Linked DNA regions of Homo sapiens: all the other regions are linked to region 3. The links are contacts of gene promoters, found by promoter capture Hi-C in blood cells and fetal thymus (Javierre and others, 2016). All regions are on one chromosome and are shown on one strand. Each heading gives the region's core, a stretch centred on a gene start or on the middle of the fragment in contact. The rest is flanking DNA. Distances are from core to core; before and after follow the strand shown. Region 1 overlaps XYLT1 (xylosyltransferase 1). Region 2 overlaps XYLT1 (xylosyltransferase 1). Region 3 holds the start of XYLT1 (xylosyltransferase 1).

Region 1 (3,340 bases), core at 134-2,633, 260 kb after region 3:
TTCATTTGCAGCATTGTTACAAGAGGTAAAAGCCTCATGAGTGAAAGAACCACATGAATGTTAAGTACTCAACAAATTAGAGTAAGAATCAAAAGGACAGTGTTTCTCCACAGACTTCTGTCTCTCTAGCAGGGAGGTGCTGTCCCAAAAGCCCACCCCAGGAGACTCCTGACAAACCCTCCTGGGCCCCTAAAGCAAGTGGGAGCCCTCATCCAGAAAGATCAAAACATTGTCTGGACCTTTGGGTCCTTGCAGGATGGATGGGGCTGCTTGAGTATCCCCCTGCCCTTTGCCTTTACCTCCTCTCATTTGTTTAACAAACTCAGCACATCCTAGTTTGGAAGCAAAGCTCATGGAGCCTAATTAACATTCCCCAAGCTTCCTTCGCATCCCTCCAGCCTTCACAATTCTGCCATATCCACATTCCACCTGCCATATTATTCTTGTAGTATTTTTACTGCAATAGACTCGCCTTTATTTTTATGTAAGCACATTTTATTTTAAAAGTAATTTTGCATCATGGCCATAAGTGGAAATCTTGCTGTCACTTGCCATGAGGAGACAGCAACAATGCGAAGAAATCAGTGAAACAAAAACAATGGCATTCAGTGCTAGCCGGGCACTCCTGTTACCTGCTGGAGATGCCAGTTCTGGGGGCAGGATTCTGCTTTTTGGAAAAGGAAGTTCAGTAGGGGAGTGCTGCTGAAGATTTGTTTGCATTGACCTGAGAGTTTGCTGGTAGGGTATTCAGGAGAGGTGGGTAAGAATTGAAAAAAGATTCACAGTCCCCCCTGACTCAATGCCATTCGATGTGAGCAGCATGTGAATCCTCTCTTGGGTAACTCTGACATCGCATTTAAGAACACACTGGGCAAGGTGGCTCACACCTGTAATCCCAGCACTGGGAGGCTGAAGGGGGAAGATCACTTGAGCCCAGGAGTTCAAGACCAACCTGGGCAACATAGGGAGACCTTATCTCTACAAATAATTTTTTTTTTAAGATGGAGTCTCATTTTGTCACCCAGGCTGGAGTGCAATGGTGTGATCTTGGCTCACTGCAACCTCCGCCTCCTGGGTTCAAGCAATTCTCCTGCCTCAGCCTCCTGAGTAGCTGGGATTATAGGCGTGCACCACCATGCCCAGCTCATTTTTGCATTTTTAGTAGAGACAGGGTTTCACCATATTGGTCAGGCTGGTCTCAAACTCTTGACCTTGTTATCCACCTGCTTTTGCATTTTTAGTAGAAACGGGGTTTCACCATGTTGGTCAGGCTGGTCTCAAACTCTTGACCTTGTGATCCACCCACCTCAGCCTCCCAAAGTGCTGGGATTACAGGCGTGAGCCACCACAGCCAGCCTACAGATAATTTTTCTAAAAAAATTAGATGGACATGGGATGCATGCCTCTGGTCCCAGCTACTCTGGAGGCTGAAGAGGGAGGATCATTTGAGCTCATGAGTTTGAGACCAGCCTGAGCAGCATAGGGAGACCTGGTCTCTACAAATATATATTTAATTAGCCAGGTGTGGTGTTCATGCCTCTAGTCCCAGCTACTCAGCAGGCTAAGGTAGGAGGATCTCTTGAGCCTGGAGTTTGAGACTGCAGTGAGCCATGATCACACCACTGCACTCCAGCCTGGGCAACAGAGCGAGATCCCGTCTTACGAATTTAAAAAAGACAAAAACAAAACCACAATCGCTATAGTCCTCAGGATCAGGTCCCTGTTAAACACTCTCCAGCCATGTGATTAGTTACAAGTTCAAGTGTGATGGGCGAGGTCCGCGGAGTCACACCACATGAACTCCTCCACAATCAGGCTGTATGGCTTTATTTTGCCTCATTTATAGCTGTGCTTACAGCATCACTTAGAGGTGAGTTCTCTTTGACAGATGAGGAAACTGAGGCATGAGAGGCAAAGTGACCTCCTAATAAATGGTAGGGCTGGGATGCAGACCCAGGCTAACCCCTTCTGTGGAATAGCTGAGTTAGGAAGTGCAGGATGGGCTCCTAAAAATAAAACATTACAAATAGTGACTTTATGATCCACCAATTCCATTTCTGGGAATATACTCCAAAGAATTGAAACAGTGACTCAAACAGGTACTTGTACACCCATGTTCAGAGCAACATTATTCATAACAGCCAAAAGGTGAAAGCCATTCAAGGGTCCATTGACAGATGAGTGGATCAATTGTGCTATATGCATACAGTGGAGTATTACTTGCCCTGAAAAAGGAATGAAATTCTGACATAGGCTACGACGTGGACAAACCAGGAGGGCACTGCGCCAAGTGAAAGGATCCAGACACAAAAGGAAGAATAATGTCTGATGTCACTTACATGAGGTTCCTTATCAAATTCATAGAGGCAGAAAGTAGAATGAAGCTTTCCAGGAGCTGAAGGAGGGGAGAGTGGGAAGTTATTGTTCAATGGATAGAAAGTTTCAGTTTTGCAAGATGAAAAGAGTTCTGGAGATGGATGGTGATAATAGTTGCACAACAGTGTAAGTATATTTATTATACTAAACTGTAAACTTAAAAATGCTTAAAATAGGCCAGATGTGTCTCATGCCTGTAATCCCAGCACTTTGGGAGGCCAAGGTGGGCTGATCACCTGCAGTCAAGAGTTTGAGACCAGCCTGGCCGACATGGCAAAACCCCATCTCTACTAAAAATACAAAAAAATTAGCCGGGCGTGGTGGTGGGCACCTGTAGTCTCAGCTCCTCAGGAGGCTGAGGCAGGAGAATCGCTTGAACCCGGGAGGTGGAGGTTGCAGTGAGCCGAGATTGTGCCACAGCACTCCAGCCTGGGTGACAGTGAGATTCCATCTCGAACCAAAAAAGGCTAAAATAGTAAATTATATGTTATCCATGTAGAGCATCCTTAATTCAAAAATCCAAAATCTGAAGTACTCCGAAATCCAGAACATTTTGGGCACATAATGCTACAAGCGGAAAATTCTATACATAAATGCTTAATGCAACTTTGATTAATGCACACAATTATTTAAAATATTGTATAAAATTACTTTCAGGCTATGTGTATAAAGTGTATATGAAACAGAAATGGATTTTGTGTTTAGGCTTGGGTCCCTTCCCCAAAATATCTCATTACATATACACAGATACTTCAAAATCTGAAAAAATTCAAAATTGGAAACACTTCTGGTTCCAGGCATTTCACATAAGGGATACTCAGCATGTATTATCTTGGACTACAACTTTTTTTTTTTTTTAAAGAGAAGTGCAGGATGTTCAGAGGGGCTGTGACAGGGAACTCAAAGAAGGGATGGGGGCCAGGCACAGTAGCTCACACCTATAACACCAGCACTTTGGGAGGCT
Region 2 (3,062 bases), core at 187-2,686, 290 kb after region 3:
AGGGTACTTTCCTCATAGGATTGTTAGAAACATGAAAGATAGTGGAACACAGGACCTAATCCGGAATTGGGCATTTTTTAACAAGGAAATTTTTTGATGATAATGGTAGTGATGACAATGATAATTAATAATCCTGTATAGTTATTAATTCTGGACAAAAACATGGTCTGGCCTTGTGTGGTCACTTTCCTTATTCTCTCCTTCTTTCTTCCTCTTATATTTTATGTCTCTATTCCTTGTACTAATACAGAAATGCAGATTGGGCAGGGGGCACCTGCCTTTGAGGAAGTCTGATCGTGATGAGAGTGAGGAAGGTAGTTGCCTTGAGCTGAGCCTTCTTTGCCTGTAGTTGGGCCCCCATATTCCCTCCCTGCTGCAAGGCTGTTTGAAGACAGCCCTAGTGTTTACTGGCCTTCTCTACCCCAATGAGGTGAAACAACATATTCCATTTCTCAAGTCCATTTCTCCACTTACTTTGAAAAATCAAGTGCATTTCTCCAGTTACTTTTTGAATGCAACTGCAATCTACCTGAAATTTCAAGTGGGAAACTTCCTTCCAATTCCCAGCCTCACCAACCCTCACCCCATCCCCATGCTCAAGTGGCCTGCCTCTGACCCTCCCCTGGTGGCCCCAGGCAATATCAGAAAGTGATTTGGACATCTGGGCAGGTCAGCTTCCTAGGAAATCATCATGGAACAGAAGCCAACGCAGAGAGCAAAGTCTTCATGGTTCATGAGACTCCCCTGCTGCCTCCTCCCACTCCCACTCAGCTTAGGTGAAGCAGGCCCATGAAGGTCAGATGGAGTGTCTCTAGAACCTGGAATCTAGTCTTGGCCCACTGCCTATAAGACCAGTTAATCCAAAAGTGGAGAATGGGAAGGGGAAGGCCATTTGGTAGTACTGGCCAGTTTTCCCATGGTAGGGGGTGAAGGGGAATCCCACAATGGTGGTTGTTCCCTTATGGAGAAGGAATGAAAAACTGTGCCCCTAAAAGCCATCACCCGTCTCCTATGTCCTTTCTCCTCCAGGGAGGGATTCTCCTCAGTGCAATTTAATTGTATTCATCAGTCAACATTACTTGGCAAACCGAGCCAGGGGCACAAACATTGCCACCCTTTCTCAGTCTAATCATGCTCTTCAGGATGCCGGAATCTGGTTTAAGGCCAAGCAGAAGCAATTTTTGATTACAGAGTCAATCTTTGTTTAAAATTTGCCACCCTGGGGAAGTTTCCAACAAGTTACTTTAAACAATGCATTCTCTGGACACCTACAGCTAAATAGTCCCATTAATCCAAATTGCTTTGCTGGGTTGTGGTGCAACCATTCAGGAATTGGGGCAGTGTCTCAGACAGGCTTCATGACAGTGATGGCTGCAGTACCAAGGGGGCACTGCTTTGTCATGAACTGAGCGACCGGGAGATGGCCCCACCCCTGAGAGTTCCCTGCCACTGAGTTTCTGCAGGTGCTAAGTGCTTCTTCTATGTTCTCCTTTAATCTCTCAGCCATCTGGTGAGATGGGACCTTCATTGTCCCCATTTGCAAGAGAAGGGACTTGAGCAGATGCTCAGCTACCCAGAAGTGGAGCTCAGTGGAGCTTAAACCCACCCATGTCCTTAACAATGAGTCAGGACTTCCCAAGTATGGCCTGTGGGCCGCTTGCAGTATGTAAGATGATTTAAAGAGAAATGCAGGCGAGTCTTTGAAAATGTCCATGTTTATCTATATTAACACATAGAAGGGAATAGGAACATGTTCAGCCCAGATTTTGGAAGCTGAAGTTTCCTTAAAAATAAAAAGTAAATAAATAAATAAAATGAAAGTTGATTTAAATGAGAAAATATTAACAAGGCAACAATACAAGGGGTAAGTGGCTCTTCAGTCATTTGGCAAGTACTTATTGAGTGCCTGGTATACTCCAGCCATTTTGCTGGGGGTTGGGAATATGGCAGTAAAGAAAGCAAGCACTGTTGTGCATCCTCCATGCTCATTAGAGAAAGAGACAGTAGATAAGTGAGCGGGTCATATATCAGGTAGAAATGAGTACCAGGAAAACTATTGCATGGAAAGAGGATAGGGTGGGTCAGGAAGACACTTCGATTAGACGGATATGCCAGAAAGTTATGAGGAAGATTGTGAATGACCCAAAAAAGAGAGTTATCAGGCGAGGGATCAACAAACTTCTTTTCTAGCTTTTATTTGAGGTTCAGGGGTACATGTGCAGGTGTGTTACATAGGTAAATTGTGTGTCCTGGGGGTTTGGTGTACAAATTACTGCATCATTCAGGTGATAAATGGAGTACCTGATAGTTTTTCGATCCTCACCCTCCCTGCCTCCTCAAGGAGACCCTGGTGTCTACCCTTCCCTTCTTTGTTTCCGTGTGTACTCAATGTTTAGCTCCCCCTTACAAGCGAGAATATGTATTTGGTTTTCTCTTCCTTTGTTAGTTCACTTAGGATAAAAGCCTCCAGCTCCGTTCATTCAACAAACTTTTTTTTTTTTTTTGAGACAGGGTCTCATTCTGTCACCCTGGCTGGAGTGCAGTGGCACAGTCACAGCTCACTGAAGCCCTGACCTCCCAGGCTCAAGTGGTCCTCCCATCTCAGCCTCCTGAGTAGCTGGGATTACAGGCTCATGTCACCACACTTGGATAATTTTTGTATTTTTGTAGAGACAGGGTTTTGCCATGTTGCCCAGGCTAGTCTCAAACTCCTGGGCTCAAGCCATCTGCCTGCCTCGAGCTCACAAAGTTCTGGGATTACAGGCATGAGCCACCACGCCCAGCCTCAAAAGTTTTTATTAAAAGGCCAGATAGTAAATATTTTAGGTTTTGTGGTACATATATGTCTCTCAGGATGACGAAACTCTGCTGTTGTAATACTAAGGCGGCCATAGACAGTATGTAAATGAATGGGTATGACTGTGTTCCAGTAAAATTTTCTTTCTAAAAACAGGTGGCAGGCAATAGTTTGCACTTGATCATTCTGCCAGATCTCCCATGTTTCAGATCGTGGCCTTGCCCAGAACACGTACATCTCAGCCCTTTCAAATTTAGTGCCAACC
Region 3 (3,313 bases), core at 279-2,778:
ACCATGCCCGGCTAATTTTTGTATTTTTAGTAGAGACGGGGTTTCACCATGTTGGCAAGGCTGATCTCGAACTTCTGACCTCAGGTGATCCTCCTGTCTTGGCCTCCCAAAGTGCTGCGATTACAGGCATGAGCCACCGCGCCCAGGCCTATCTCACTATATTTTAATGATTAACATCCACATCAGGCTTCTCTAGACCTCAGGCTTGCTGAAGATGAGATTAAACCTCATTCACCTTTGGATGCGTGCACCTGGCCCAGTGTCTGACACAAGCTTTGTATTCACGGATGCTTGTGGAGTGGATGAAACAATCTCTTCCCACTCCCTGCCTCATTGTCTGATGAGCCTTCATTACACTCCACTTTCTTCTCTTTGTAAATTAGGATGAGGTGAAAAAGCACAGCAGACAAGATGCGAAGCATTCACGCCAAGTCCTCAATTCACAAACTGATTTGATCTGCTGTTGTATTCCCAGAGTGCTAGGTCCCGTATGGGACACCAACGCCATCCCATATGCTCACTGTTCTGCGCTGCTGTGTATAAAGCCCTGGGCAAGAGGACAAGGGAGGGAAAAACCAGAAAGACTGAGTCAGAGAAGGCTCGGGATGAAATTTGAGTCCATTGGGATCATTCTGCCTAAACGACAGAGGAGAAAGCTTGGGCTCAGGGAGGAGTCCTCCTCCTCCTGGCTCAAGGTCACCGGGACAGACCAGTCAGGATGGGAAAGAACTCCACTTTCAAGAGCAAGACCTGTTTCCCCAGGACCTGGGCCCTGTGCAGACAGGAAGGGGGACTTCAGGATGGATGGGGAAAAGGACACGCTGGGAGGCTGCGGGGCCAGCCTTTGGGGCTTGCATCCTGCGAAGGTTGAGTAACTCCACGGGTCTCCCTTTTGCCGCTATACCACTTGCCAACTGGGTTTGGAGTCTCTTGGCTTGTGAGTCCTCAGGGACCAGAGAAGTGACTCAGTGAACACTTAGTACATCGTTGGCACCGGGGATTGTGTGTGATTCAGGAGTCACTCACAGAGCTTGTGCTGATTAACTCCAGAAACTCACCCAAAGCCTCCTCCCCACCCCTTCAAGCCCAGGATGAAGGGATCAGACTGTGGCTCTGACACTCCTGAAATGTTTCTCACGTGTCCACCTGCCAACCGGTCTGGTACCGACAGAAGATCCCTGGACCGCGAACTCCGGGGCTAGGAGCTTCCTCCACGCACTGCCTCCTTCCAGCGGCCCACAGGGAAAACAGGACCTCGGGACCCCCTCTCTTCCTGACCTCCCCTGGATTCTGAGCGGGCCCACCCTCAACCAAAGGTCCCCTGTTTCGCGGCCCCTGCCTCTCTTTTTCCGCCTTGGGAATTGTCCCCCTCGCCCCCCATCCTACTCCCACTACGTCCTGAGGGGTGTCTGTCTTCTCTGATCGCCCCCACCCCCTTCCTTTCCCTCCTCCTTTTCCTCCCTCGGCTCCTCCCCCAGGCCCCGCCCTCTCCGCCTCGGCCCGCGTCCCCCCGGCGCCTTCCCCATCACCCTCCCCTCCAGCGGGGACAGGGGTGTGGGGAGGGGGGCGGCGGCGGCGGCCCGAGCGGGAGCCCGAGCGGCAGCCGGCGGCCGCGGGAGCTGCGGGGAGCGCGGGGGCGGCCCGGAGCGTGCCGGGGTCCCCGCGCCTCGCTCGCCGGCCGCGCTCCGAAGATGGTGGCGGCGCCGTGCGCCCGGAGGCTGGCCCGGCGCTCGCACTCGGCGCTGCTCGCGGCGCTCACGGTGCTGCTGCTGCAGACGCTGGTCGTGTGGAATTTCAGCAGCCTCGACTCCGGGGCCGGGGAGCGCCGCGGGGGCGCAGCGGTCGGCGGCGGGGAGCAGCCGCCCCCGGCCCCGGCCCCGCGCCGGGAGCGCCGGGACCTGCCCGCCGAGCCGGCTGCAGCCCGAGGAGGAGGAGGAGGCGGCGGCGGAGGAGGAGGAGGACGGGGGCCCCAGGCGCGGGCGCGGGGAGGCGGCCCCGGAGAACCGCGGGGACAGCAGCCGGCCAGCCGGGGGGCACTGCCCGCCCGGGCTCTGGTAAGATGCCCTTTCGGCTCGCGCCCCGCGGCGAGGGAGGGAGGAAGGCAGCCCGACCCCACGCCCCCCTAGCCCTTGAACTCGGTCATCAGACTGGGACTCTGCAAGCCTACCGACTCCACATCGCCTCTTGCCCCGGGAAGCCGGGTGGGGTCCCTGCCAAGGCTCAGGGGTCGTGGGCTGCCCCTTTCAGAGTCTGAGCACGGACCCCTTGGGGTCTGGGGGAAGTTTTCTCCAGCGGGGGCGCTTTGGGGGTTACCGGAGCCTGGCTGGGTTCCTGTTCCCCATCACTCTTGCTGGGGACCCCAGGTGACTTGCTCCGTGCGTGTAGGTCTTGGTGACTCGCTCCCTGCCTGAGTGAGTGGATCTCCCCGGATCCTCAGCCGCTGTTCCTGGGCGGTTGTCGCAGCAGCATCTCTCTGGTTTTTGCCGAGCTGGGTGCAGACAGTTGAGCCCTCTGTTCGTCCTGGCCTGCGATGAGGGCTGAGCTGGGCGTCCCAAGTCCCCGACCATGCCCCTGAATCAATACTCAGTCCGGGGTGTCTGGTCTTACTTTGGGTCTTCTGTTTCTCTTCTCTGGATGTTTGAGCCTTCCGTCTTCACCTTCTCTGTCTCTAACCTTGCCGTCTCCCATGCCCTCTGTGACTTTATCTCCTCCCCATCTCCAGTTTCAGGGCATGGCTCCTTCTCCTAGCTGGTTGTCTCTGTCTTTCTGTCTTGTTGCGGCCGGTTCAGGTCACCAGCTGTGTGTCCGACCACACCGTCAGGGCTTCCACTCCTATGGGATTACTTTGCCCTTCGTGGGTGTGAACAGTCAGGGCTCTGAAACTGTTTTTTCCGCAGATCTGGGGCCATCTGGGTGGCTGGGTGGGGAACTGACTTGTCTTCCTACCCTGTCCCTAACTTCTCCAGGGATACCTTTCCCACCTTCTCTGGGCTGCCTTGCCCAGCCTACTGAGCTAGGAGCAGGAGCACATGGGGCAGGAGGCCGGAGTCCCCATTTCAGAGCCAAGGTCTCAGTTCTCCAGGGGCGTGAGTTCTGCCTTAGGGCATAGCCAATGTGTTGTGTGTCTGTCTGTTTCTTCATCACACTACTTGTCTGCAAGGATTTGCCTAGCCGTTAAAGGATATTAGACACCAGGGGGATGGTTTCAGGATCCTGAAGACTGAATGCATATTTCTATCATTTGTCACTTTGGAAGTCCTCACTGAAGACTGCCTTAGTACACAGCGTGATGCTTTCTGAGCTGCTAAACTTC

What was found. The method cuts DNA at HindIII sites, captures the fragments that hold promoters and counts their contacts. A CHiCAGO score of 5 or more calls a contact.
Region 1: a contact is called between a fragment that was not itself captured here and the fragment with the promoter of XYLT1 in region 3, in 13 of 17 cell types (non-activated CD4 T cells, total CD4 T cells, naive CD8 T cells and 10 more). The highest score is 10.8, in non-activated CD4 T cells.
Region 2: a contact is called between a fragment that was not itself captured here and the fragment with the promoter of XYLT1 in region 3, in 2 of 17 cell types (neutrophils and non-activated CD4 T cells). The highest score is 5.3, in neutrophils.

The regions. Positions count from the first base shown.
Region 1 is chr16:17,208,235-17,211,574 of GRCh38, reverse strand. The region is part of intron 3 of XYLT1 (xylosyltransferase 1); the gene reads left to right. Among named protein-coding and RNA genes, the nearest start is that of XYLT1, 260 kb to the left of the region's middle. The HindIII fragment of the contact is 2,006 bases long and covers 381-2,386 here.
Region 2 is chr16:17,178,511-17,181,572 of GRCh38, reverse strand. The region is part of intron 5 of XYLT1 (xylosyltransferase 1); the gene reads left to right. Among named protein-coding and RNA genes, the nearest start is that of XYLT1, 290 kb to the left of the region's middle. The HindIII fragment of the contact is 5,584 bases long and covers 1-3,062 here.
Region 3 is chr16:17,469,175-17,472,487 of GRCh38, reverse strand. XYLT1 (xylosyltransferase 1) reads left to right here and starts at 1,528. Exons shown (of 12, transcript NM_022166.4): 1 at 1,528-2,054. The coding sequence starts at 1,692. It overlaps LOC107987234 (a long non-coding RNA gene), which reads left to right and starts at 2,061. Exons shown (of 2, transcript XR_001752091.2): 1 at 2,061-3,313. LOC105371106 (a long non-coding RNA gene) reads left to right here. Exons shown (of 3, transcript XR_933144.3): 3 at 384-1,481. RefSeq lists enhancers at 1,033-1,534, 2,309-2,358, 2,479-2,748. The HindIII fragment of the contact is 8,582 bases long and covers 659-3,313 here.